Regions from separate parts of the Homo sapiens genome. Here all the other regions are linked to region 3. The links are contacts of gene promoters, found by promoter capture Hi-C in blood cells and fetal thymus (Javierre and others, 2016). All regions are on one chromosome and are shown on one strand. The core of a region is centred on a gene start or on the middle of the fragment in contact, and the rest is flanking DNA. Distances in the headings are between cores, read along the strand shown. Region 1 overlaps FMNL2 (formin like 2). Region 2 overlaps PRPF40A (pre-mRNA processing factor 40A). Region 3 holds the start of ARL5A (ARF like GTPase 5A). Region 4 holds the start of RBM43 (RNA binding motif protein 43).

What was found. The method cuts DNA at HindIII sites, captures the fragments that hold promoters and counts their contacts. A CHiCAGO score of 5 or more calls a contact.
Region 1: a contact is called between a fragment that was not itself captured here and the fragment with the promoter of ARL5A in region 3, in 1 of 17 cell types (neutrophils). The highest score is 5.6, in neutrophils.
Region 2: a contact is called between a fragment that was not itself captured here and the fragment with the promoter of ARL5A in region 3, in 1 of 17 cell types (total B cells). The highest score is 5.8, in total B cells.
Region 4: a contact is called between the fragment with the promoter of RBM43 here and the fragment with the promoter of ARL5A in region 3, in 8 of 17 cell types (non-activated CD4 T cells, fetal thymus, total CD4 T cells and 5 more). The highest score is 12.0, in non-activated CD4 T cells.

Annotation. Positions count from the first base shown.
Region 1 is chr2:152,624,929-152,627,628 of GRCh38, reverse strand. FMNL2 (formin like 2) reads right to left here. Exons shown (of 26, transcript NM_052905.4): 16 at 2,067-2,191; 17 at 902-1,104. Among named protein-coding and RNA genes, the nearest start is that of PRPF40A, 91 kb to the left of the region's middle. The HindIII fragment of the contact is 5,332 bases long and covers 1-2,700 here.
Region 2 is chr2:152,665,889-152,668,588 of GRCh38, reverse strand. All of the region lies in intron 16 of PRPF40A (pre-mRNA processing factor 40A), which reads left to right. Among named protein-coding and RNA genes, the nearest start is that of PRPF40A, 50 kb to the left of the region's middle. The HindIII fragment of the contact is 185 bases long and covers 1,163-1,347 here.
Region 3 is chr2:151,827,029-151,829,728 of GRCh38, reverse strand. ARL5A (ARF like GTPase 5A) reads left to right here and starts at 1,308. Exons shown (of 6, transcript NM_012097.4): 1 at 1,308-1,598. The coding sequence starts at 1,553. RefSeq lists an enhancer at 983-1,032 and silencers at 1,083-1,592, 1,643-1,692. The HindIII fragment of the contact is 9,661 bases long and covers 1-2,224 here.
Region 4 is chr2:151,260,433-151,263,132 of GRCh38, reverse strand. It overlaps RBM43 (RNA binding motif protein 43), which reads left to right and starts at 1,270. Exons shown (of 4, transcript NM_198557.3): 1 at 1,270-1,408. The coding sequence starts at 1,406. RefSeq lists an enhancer at 1,187-1,416 and a silencer at 1,457-1,726. The HindIII fragment of the contact is 8,034 bases long and covers 1-2,700 here.

The DNA of each region.
Region 1 (2,700 bases), core at 103-2,602, 800 kb before region 3:
CATGACAAACAAGATATATAAAGATTTAAAGCCAGGCTGCACTTCAGGATTCAATGACAGAAATCAGAACAGACTGTAGGAGGCACTGGACTACCAGATTATGACCCTGGTTGAGGACACAAAATTGGAACAAAGGATTTCTTAGGGTCATTTACACCTCGAAGCCTCTAACCAAAATGTATAAGATAATCAATTTATAAATAATTAGTTCCTAAAACATTTAATAATGTCTTCATCACATTTGAAAGTCACCATGGCCACAAGAAGAATAGAAGGATTCTTCTAATAGAGGAGTAAAACCAATGCCTTCTATGCAGTTCAAGAGTAAAAAATGAACTTTGTTTAAAATGTCCTGAAAGTACTGAAAGCAAAACAATTCACATTCCTGTTGTTACGAATTAAAATATGCATCTGTATCATATTTGCATCTGGCATTGAACTGTATCATTCCACAAATGCCATCAAATTTGTATTCAACAAATCTGGATAAAATCCAGATACTCCAGAGAAAACTGACATTTTCTACCTTTTCTTAACATCTGCCACGCTCAGCTCAACTTTCCTTTTATGTAAGCATTGCTGGAGGCCCGCATAAGAGAGTAGACCCAGATAATAAATGATGTCACAATCCAGATGTTATTCTTCTAAAACAATTAGTTACTGGTTCTAATACAACACTCCCCAGGGTGATTTCTGGTCTACCTCTTTCGTGTTGGCATCATATTCAACTTTGAAGTAGCACACACAGAGTTCAGATCTCTCAAGTGTGGATATCAAAAATTGCTCCAGCTTTTATCTTAGGTCTTGTCTCACTATTGAAATATTTGTCATCTACTAATTCATAACTTTCTCATTTTCATTTTATCATAAACTAACTAGAATATAATTTTCCTGAACTTACACATGAATAGCTTTACATATTTCATCAGCAGTCTTTCCAGCTTTCCTTAAAGTTATGGCAAGATTTTTGGCCCTGTTTGCTTCTAGTAATGTCACTTTGTTTGATCCCTTCTGTGGTATCTTCTGTTTGCTTGAAGAAAGATCAATGGCAGGTCCTTGGGCTTTTGTCTTGAATATTTCCTCAAATTCATCCACATTTAAATCCTAAGATAGAGAGGAATGACCATGGAAAATTGGATTATATTTAAAAATGAAGTCCGGAAGCCACCAGTTAGTTTCTTAAGCAAAAACGTCACTTTTTCTATTAAGTACTTGTCTTTGGCCATGGCTTCCTCTATTTTTCTTGTTTTTGTTATAGTACAACTTCTGGCACATACACAAAAGTGAACATAGGTCGGATGTGGTGGCTTATGCCTGTAATCCCAGCACTTTGGGAGGCCAAGGCGGGTGGATCACTTAAGGTCAGGAGTTTGAGACCAGCCTGGCCAACATGATGAAATGCGCTCTCTACTAAAAACACAAAGAATAGCCAGACATGGTAGTGTGTGCCTGTAATCTCAGCTACTTGGGAGGCTAAGCCAGAGAATTGCTTGAACCTAGGAGGAAGAGGTTGCAGTGAGCCGAGGTTGCGCCACTGCATTCCAGCCTGGGCGACAGAGTGAGACTCCGTCTCAAAAAATAATAATAATAATAATTTAAAAATAAAATAAAATAAAAAAATAAGTGAACATTAGACTACCGATTCTAACCCACTAATTCAATTACTTTTCAATAATTAGCTTGCACAGACAGCTGCCACAGATTAAAATTATCCATCAGATAAGGCAGTGAGTGTGATAATTGAGCTCACTTGCAGTCCAAAAGTTTTTATGTCTTTCTCTCAATTAAGGGAAGGAATTATTATGTCAGATCTATATTCTGTGGCATACACTAAAGATGCTCAAAAGCATTTATTCCAATTTAACATAACTCTTTGAACAGTTTTAGAGCCACCTTACAAAACAGTGTCAAATGTTATTCTCCAATATTACATACATGTTTCTTCTTTACATCAGGGGACTTAAAACACTAGTACTTTATCTCTGACACTTCCAGGTTAACAGAACACCCATGCCGGCTTTGCTGCACAGAGTGCACCTCTAGTTTCTAACCAATGAGAAAAATACCTCCAGAATTCGCTCATCATCAATTTCATTGAAGACTGTGCCATTGATCTGATTGGGCTTCAGAGCAACCCAGTTAAACACTGGCATTCTGAACTTCGTCTTGATTGGCTTCTTAATTTTCACAGCTAAAGACATCAAAGAGAATGGAATTAAGATCCCACCAAAAGCCTACGACCCTCAGGAACAATCAGACAACAGTCCTTGCAGATGACACTTTGACACTGGAGGAAGGTTGGCAAGAGGCGCGCAAGTAGGTTTTTAAAGCTGGAAAACAACACACATGGCCTTGGCCAGAGCCATTTGAGGTCATCATTTGGTTGACTAACACATCATTGTATTAAAAGACGTCTTAAGGGCCAAGGGTTGATTTTTTTTTTTCTTTTAACTCAGGCAACTAATTTGCTGCATTACAGTTACAATATTAGGACAATGGTTGGGACAAATAAAAAGTGTTGGAGAGCAAAGATTATTACTCATGTTACTAGATAGCAGAGAGGGCAAAAACTTGCCATATTTGGACATCCTAAATTCTTGGTTGCAGACCACATGTTTACAAACAAACCTTAGAAGATGATCAGGGACTGCAGACAGTGGCTGACTAGACTACCAGAAGTACAACGTCATGAAGGCTGAC
Region 2 (2,700 bases), core at 6-2,505, 840 kb before region 3:
TTGTTATATAAGTTTATATAACTAAGGAAATGGAGAGGTGAAGTGACTTGCCCAAGTTCAACAGCTGCTGAATAGTGAAGCCAGAATTTGAATCCATGCAGTTTTGATTACAGGGTCTCTTCCATTAACCATTGTATTAGGATAAATGCTAGGTTACAATGGCTTAAATAAGTTTTTTTCTTGAAGTAACAGTCTTTTTGGTCTAGGGCAGGGCATATTGCCATCCCTTAAGGCAGTGGTTCTCAAAATTCAGTGTATCAGAATGAAGTGGAGGATTTTTAAAAAATTTCTTCTGGCCGGGCACGGTGGCTCATGCCCATAATCCCAGCACTTTGAGAGGCTGAGGCTGGCAACTGCTTGAGTCCAGAAGTTCAAGACCAGCCTGGGTAACACGATGAAACCCGGTCCCTACTAAAAATACAAAATAATAATAATAATAATTAGCCGGGTGTGGTGGTGCATGCCTGTAGTCCCAGCTACTCAGGAGGCTGAGGTGGGAGAACCTGAGCCCAGGAGGTCAAGGCTGCAGTGAGCTGCGATGGTGCCACTGCACTCTAGACTGTGCAAAAGAGCGAGATCCTGTCTCCAAAAAAAAAAATTATTCGCGCTATGCCAAAGGTTACTGTGTTAAACGTCACAGCCAGTAGAAAGATTTCAGTCCTTATTCAATGAAAACTTAACATTTACTACTCTTGATAGGTTCCTTTATCTTAGTGACTTTCTAGACTTGATCATGTTCTACAACGGTTAAAAACACAAATTGTTTAGCCTTACCTGAAGAATTTGAATTAGTAAGTCTGGGGTGGAGTCTGAAAATTTCATTTCTAAATTTCCAGGTGATATTGATACTGTTGGACCATAGTTTGAGAACCAGTGCGCTAGCATGTTAACCTTCTCTGCAGAGTTAGGGGTATGCTGCCCCCATTTCACATTTTAACTTGGAAAAAGTAGAAAGAACAGTTCTTCTTAAAGCTAATGATGTAGAAGTTCTGCTCACCTCCTTCATTTGGGTTCAGTTGCTGAGAATTTAGTCACAGGGCCACAACTAGCTACACAAAGGAGGCTAGAAAACTTAGCTTTTAGCTAAGCAGCCATGTGCCCAGAAAGAAGGGGAGGACAGATTCTTAGGAGGGCTATTATACACTCTTCCACAACTTAAGCTTTAATGTCTCTGATGAAGGTTTTGCAGTGGTTTAAAATAAGGAGACATATATGAAAAAATAATAATACAGTGAAAATAAGGTCTGGGTCATAGAAAATACGAGACTATAATGTAAACAATATTGAAGATGGAGACTGTGAGGCAAAATTTTGATGTGAAGGCTGTTACGGTTCCTTAAATAAGCTTAAATGTGGCTTTGAATCAGATTGCTATGTGTCTGGCATAGTTTCTGATTACTACTAATATAATTGGTGTTAAGTATGTTGTATTAATATTCTTTCAGATATTCAGCCTGGTAATTTTCCTGTTGTGCTATTTCAAAAGATTTATTTAGGACTTTAGTGAAATGAATTAAAAGAGAAGATTGGCATTAGACAATAAAAGATCATTAATGGAGAGCTTCTCAGTAGTTATGATTATGATGATGACTAGCTTTTTATTTAGTGTTCATTTGCTAATCAGAAAATTCATCATGTCTGTGACAAGGAAACTATGATCTTGTTTTTCTTATGTCTTAAAACTGGTATTTGAAGTCAGTTTTGTCTGGAAAGGATTGATCTGAGGCTTTCAAGGAGAACCAGAGGAATGTATAGTGTCTCAGAAGCCAAGAGTTTGGAATTTTAAGATAGAGCATGATCCCCAAATGCACAGAATCAGTATCACCTGGGAAATTATGAAAATGCATATTCTCAAACTCCACGTCAGACTTACAGAATCAGATTCTGGAAATGGGACCTAACAATATGATTTTTTTAAACAGTCCTTCAAATGAGTCTTTGAGAAACCCCTGAGGTAAAGGAATCCACCTAAAGTAACATGTTAAGAAATTTTTATGGAATGAGGACTGAAAGAATACTGTTAAGGGTGGCATTTAAGGTGTTAAGAGTGGCATTTAAGGTGTTTAGTGACCATTGGCATGGTAGGGAAAGTTAAAGGTCTGCCAAATAGTTGAAAGATATTCAATAAGGTAAAATTCAAATAAGCTTGCAGTTAAGAGAAAGGCTTTTCTTGGGTAAGAGGAAACCAGTTAAGAGGGAGAGAATGAAGGAAGAATTGAAAAATAAGGGTGAGTCTCATTAAACAACATCTCGGAAAGTTGGGAATTCAAGCATATATATGAATACAGTTACATTGAGAACAGTATATAAGAGAACAAAAAGAAGGATGAAGATGGAGAAAAATTAATACCGATTTGGATCTAAGACAGTGGTGCTCAACCAAGAAAGATTTTGTGATTGTCACTATTTGTGGGGAACATGCTACTGGCATCTAGTGTGTAGAGGCGAGAGATGCTGATAAACATCCTGCAATGTACAGGGCTCAAACATACCCCGCCCTCAACCAAGAGAAAGAAAGAAAAAAAAATTACGTCATCCAAGATGTCATTAGTGCCACGGGAAGAAGAAACATCAAGCTCAGCCATCTTTGAAGCAACTTGCTTTCCATAATGTAAAAGGCAAGGCTTTTTCACCCCTAAAATGGGGCAAGTAAAATAGAATAAGAACCATACAGTTTTGTCAGAGTGGTTTTCAAACCTG
Region 3 (2,700 bases), core at 59-2,558:
TCAAACCATCCTACTCTCTCATGCCTGAAGTCAGAAGTCTCTCCAATGACATTTTGCATTTCTCTGTAATCATAGATAAATTGGTCTTTAAACTCTCTGTCTCTGTCTCTCTCTCTCTCTTCTTTCTTCACTCGGAAAATAACCTGGGAGACCATTTCCTTGGGTAGATTGTAAAATATGAAGCTCCGCCATCACATAATGTGTATATGACATCCATTTCATAAGTTGACATCTGTGTGGGAGTCTGAAAAAGTCTTAGAGCTACCAAAGCATTACCTACGGTGTGCGAGAATGGAAATATTACAGAGTTAATGCAAATTGGTTATACAAACTACATTGTTCTTCTAAACAGTGTACAGAATATTAAGTAAATCCAGACATGATAATACATAAATTAATATGGATTACTATGATTTTCCTTCCCTTCATGTATGGCTCCTCTAAACTTTGGCTTTTTAACCATAAAGCCCCAAAAGAAGTCAACGAAATTACTTTTCTATATTTTGAGGTAAAATACTGGGTAGTTAGGAGAAGTGAGTTGGGAAGGTGCGGTTTATTGCTGATTTTGCTTAATTTCATTCAGCTGTTGGGGATGGGAGTGCAAAGCAGTTCAAATGGCTCCTACAAGTCTCCCAATTTTTCTTTATTTTCCTTTTTACTAAGGTTAACGAGAACAGAAAGGGATGGAGCTTTGGTGGCCACTAAAGGTTTTTAAACAGGGTAGTGACTTGATCAAAATCGTTGTTTTGGGCAATACTGACGTGAGAGTTAAGAGATTGGAGAGAAAAGAGCCCTGAAGTGCAAAAATGGCTTTAAGGTGACTATCTAGGTAAGGCCACTGACTTCAGCTGAGTGTCAGAGGGCAGCAGACTTTTCCCTCAAAGACCCACAGGGGACACAATGTCTTAAAGAGTCATGACGTGGAACTTTAAGTGTAGTGTATGTGAAGGGTTGGGGATGGACATGGGGTACTCAATTATATGTTTACATTATGGCGCAGTGGAGAAGATTCGAGGGAAATATAAATACTCGGGGACGCAACAGCAAGCAGTCGGAAGCCATCTGCCCCAACTTGCGGTCTTCACAGCCTCAGTCCCAGGGTAAAGTCCTGCGCCTTCCGCAGTCTTGGTTATGCAAATAAGCGAGGACAGGGCGGGCGCCCTTTCCTACGCTCCGCCCCTCTGGCCGCGCGCCTGCGCACTCACGTCCCTCCAGGCCCGCCCCTTCACTTCCCCCGCCCGCGTGGTCGTCGCCACCGCAGCCGCCCGAGAGGAGCTGGGGGAGGACGGTGGCCCGCGAGGCTCGTCGCAGACAACGCGGCGGCGATGTCCGCGAGCCAGGCGAGTGCCGCGGCGGCAGCGGCGGGGCCTTGCGCGCGGCAGGGCGGCCTGGGCTTCGGCCTCCCTCCGGTTCCCTGGAAGCGGGCCCGCGACCAGCGCGGGAGCAGCAGCAGAGGCGGAGGCTCCAGCGCGTCTCTCTCCTCCCCCTCAGCCTGAGCCGGGGGAAGCCAGGCGGCCCGGGTGTCTGGAGGGGGGGGGTCCGCTGCCCGAGAATGGGAATTCTCTTCACTAGAATATGGAGACTGTTCAATCACCAGGGTGAGGAGCTCGGTCCGCGGGCGTACGGGTTGGGGAGAGGGTCAGCTCGGGCCGGCTAGGTGGGGGTCTCCGAATACTTCGGAATGTGGGCGGCTCGGTCGGGCGCCAGCTCAGCGCGGGGTGCAGGCTGCGCGGATACGGGCCCGGGACGGTTCGGTCCCGGCTCCCGAGCTTGGGGATGGTTCCTGACTCGCAGCCCTTTGTCTTAGGAGACCTTCCTAAGAAGTCTTTTCCGTAATAGACCCATTGCTCCGATTTCGAATGAGAGTGGTAAAGGTTTCTTGCCCTAGGTCCGACGTCCCTGAGTAGCACGGCCTGGCCTGTCTTTCAGCCCTTTCTTTGCTCACCAGTTGTGTTTGGACACCACATAGAAGTGCTGGGGTCTTCTGGAATGAAGGTTATAGATTGCTGCCCTAACCGCACCACTGAGCGACCGAGGGTTGCAGAATGCGGAAAACGGGAGGAATCGCTCGACTTGTCCATTACACCTCTGGTTTATGAGCCTGCCCTCCACTGCCACCCGTCTTTGTGTGTGTTGGGGGCAGGGGGGGTTCTTCTGCCTCCTGAATAGAGATGGACTTCTCTCCATTTGTTTTACTTATTATATCTGTGTTTAAGGTTAAGCTTAAGGTCATTTTTCTACTCGTGTGGGTTATTAGACACAGTTTTTGTTTGTTTTGCTGGGTTAAAAATGTTAAAGTGTTTCACTGAAAGTTTTAAAAACATACCATATGAAACATTTGTTAACCATAGGTAACTAGCAAGTTACTAAGTGTAAAGTGTGTTATATAGGGATGCTTAAGTTCAGCCAACTTCAGACATGGCCATGAAATACCTATCAGGCTTGTTAAAATTTGTTACAAAATGACTAAAACTGGGGAAAGAGAATACAATTTTAACCCAAAGACTGGATACTTATTAAGATACAGTGGTGTACTTTTGTTTCTTTTTAACTCAAGTTGGGTGGTTCATCATTCCGCTGTCAGGAACTTAGTTTGTGTTTTTCTGTTGTGTAAGCTGATGGTGTCACGTCCCAGTTTTCCAATAAAGACTTACGTGAATGGTGGCATCTATTATGTACACCTACTACTACCACCTCCTC
Region 4 (2,700 bases), core at 21-2,520, 570 kb after region 3:
ATGCTTACATTCAGGCTAACACTTTCTGGTTTTGCAGATCTAGTTGTGAAAAATGGTATCTTATTATTTCAATTTACATTTCTTAGGAGTGGGATTGGGTTTCTTCATATCTGCTAGCCATCTACCTTTGTTCTTCATGCATTCATTGATTTGATTTTGAAGTTTGTCCAGAGATTCCCTGTGTCCCCACAGGCGCCATTCGGGGTTCCTGTGCTAAGGCATGGACAAGGTGGTGAGCTCTCTGCTGGCAGGGACCTGGCGCTCTCATCCTGTGTCCTTAGCACCCGGCAGAGGTCCAAGAGGGCTCCTGGTCTGGGCTGGGAAGGTGACCAACACGGCGTTGGGGGTTGAGGTGGGGGTTGGGGAACTGGGGTAGGTTGTGCAGAGGAAAAGGCCCAGGTGAGCGGTGGGGGAAGGGGAAGAAGTCTGGACAGATAATAAGGGCGTAGGAAAGACATCCAGATTTCACTGAGTGCAGGGCTTTTTAAAACTGATGTTAGAAAAACTTGATTTGCTGTTGTAAAAAACCATCTGTGTGAAGTAGAAATTGATATCAATAACATGATAGAGAATACGTTCTAAAAAGTAAAGGTAGCTGGATGTAAAATTCTGGCAGAAGTTTAATATCCTAGATGGTTAGTTTGAGGCCAGCAACTAATGAGGATAAAAGCCTTCTCCATGGAAAATTTTGGACAGTTATCTGGAGAAATATTACAGTGCGCATCAACCAAATTGAAATGTTTTCAAAAGTGTTGTAAAGTTTCATGTAGTAAAAAGGTTTTAGCCACATGCCCTTCAATTTCATGGCATCGAATATATAAACACAGAAGAGAGCATGCATGCAAGATATTTAACTCCCTTACATGATAATGCATGCGATTCAAAACTATCATGACATCTAGGGCTCTCTGCAACTACGAGATGATTGATGTTAGGAAAAGCGTAGCCCCCCAGTATCAACACAGGAAGCGGCCACCACCTACTATGTGTTTTCCCTTTTTGCGTTTTTTCTTTTTTTAAATCAACTCTGCCGTTGTTGCTGCTGCTTAGCAAAACGGGTAAAAACAAAATTGCAATCACTGATGCATCACCCAGAGAATTCCCAAATTTCCTGTCGAGGAATCCTCTCGGCCTCTCTCCAGAGTGCTTCCACAAGTTGCAAAACTACGGAGGGCGTCTGGGCAGGCGCTGGCAACAGCACTCCTGAGTCCGAGCTCCCACTCAGAGGCCACGAGGTCGCAGAACAGCCGGATCGGGTGGAAGGACCGCCCTTTTCTTCGTAGCCTCCAAGGGAGCTGGAACAAAAAACGAAACCAAAACCTGCCTGCTCGCTCCTCTCCCCATCGCCTGCGTTCCGCTGGTTGTGGGCTTTCTGCGGCCGCTGAGGGCGCGTCTCCCCTCCGCCATGGCAAGTTGCTTTTGCTTTGGGTTTTGCGGTGCAGGTCCGTGCCTGTACCGTCGCCATGGTCCCCTAGAAGGGCGCGGAACCGGGCGCGACGGGCCAGGGTGCAGGGCTGCGCGGGAGGGGGCGGCGCACGGAGGGGCCCCAGGGACCCCGGGGGCCCCGGAGAGCCGTCCACCCCGGCGGGCAAACTCAGGTCAGCCTCGCTGCACCCTTCCCAGGTGGCGGCATTGCGCGCTCCTGAAATTCACGTACGGCGGTGCAGTATAGGCCCGCTCCAGAGGCTCAGGACTAGGCTGTCACCTCCCACACCCACTGCCCAGGCGACGGGGACGCCGCCGTTCGTCGAGGAGCTGCTTCGCAGGCTGTTAGGGCTTAACTGTTGTCCTCCCACGCCTCGGGGGGAACAAAAGTGGCCTGATTAGCCAGAAATGGAGGTCACAGCTGCCTTTTGAAAAGGGCTAATAAGAACGATTCGAGCCAAGGACGCAAGTCAGGAAGACATCCTCATGTCTTATGTCTGCCTTGGTGCGAATTCTTGTCTTAGCAAATTCAAAATTTATCCTTCTGTGTTTTGTTTTGTTTCCATCAATCGCTTAAAAGCCTTGGCAAGGCCTTTAATTCCTGCTCTGAAATGCTAGAGTCCCGGAAATGCAAAAGCAAGTACGTTTTTGTTGACCTGGTGGCGGTAGAGGCGTCGTCATTGAAAATAAACAACTGATTTTGAGAAAATCAATATAAACAAATGCAGTCAATGAATCTTCTGTTTCTTCCCAATGCCTTACTTACAAAAGTAAAGTTTTGCTATATACTTTTTGCTTTCTGATAAGATGGCCAAGTCTGTTATAACACAATACTGATGCAAGGAAATGCGCCATCACGTTAGTATGTCTTGGCTAAAAGCTGCTCGTTTCAAAGTCCTTGAAAGGACTGTCTTTCTCTAGGCATTTCTTTATCTTAATCGTGGGTAGAAGAGATGAACAACCCTCATTATTCATAATTGACCTCAGTAAAATTATCTATGTTAGCCATACTTTCTCCAACCTATGAAAGGGAGTTAAGGACAAATATTGGCAAGTCATTGAAGTACTAATTCATTAGATGATTCATAGAAACTAGTTCTTACCAAACAAAATTTACATCTTTATGTTTTTTTCTTCTAAAAATACTGGTTCAGGGAGAAGTTTCTTTGATTTTAAAGATAAATTACCAGTAGACATTCGAATAAAGAAATATGGTATTAGTACTAATGAGGGCATAGAGCTGAAGTAAGATTTCCTGAGTTTAAATTGATTGCA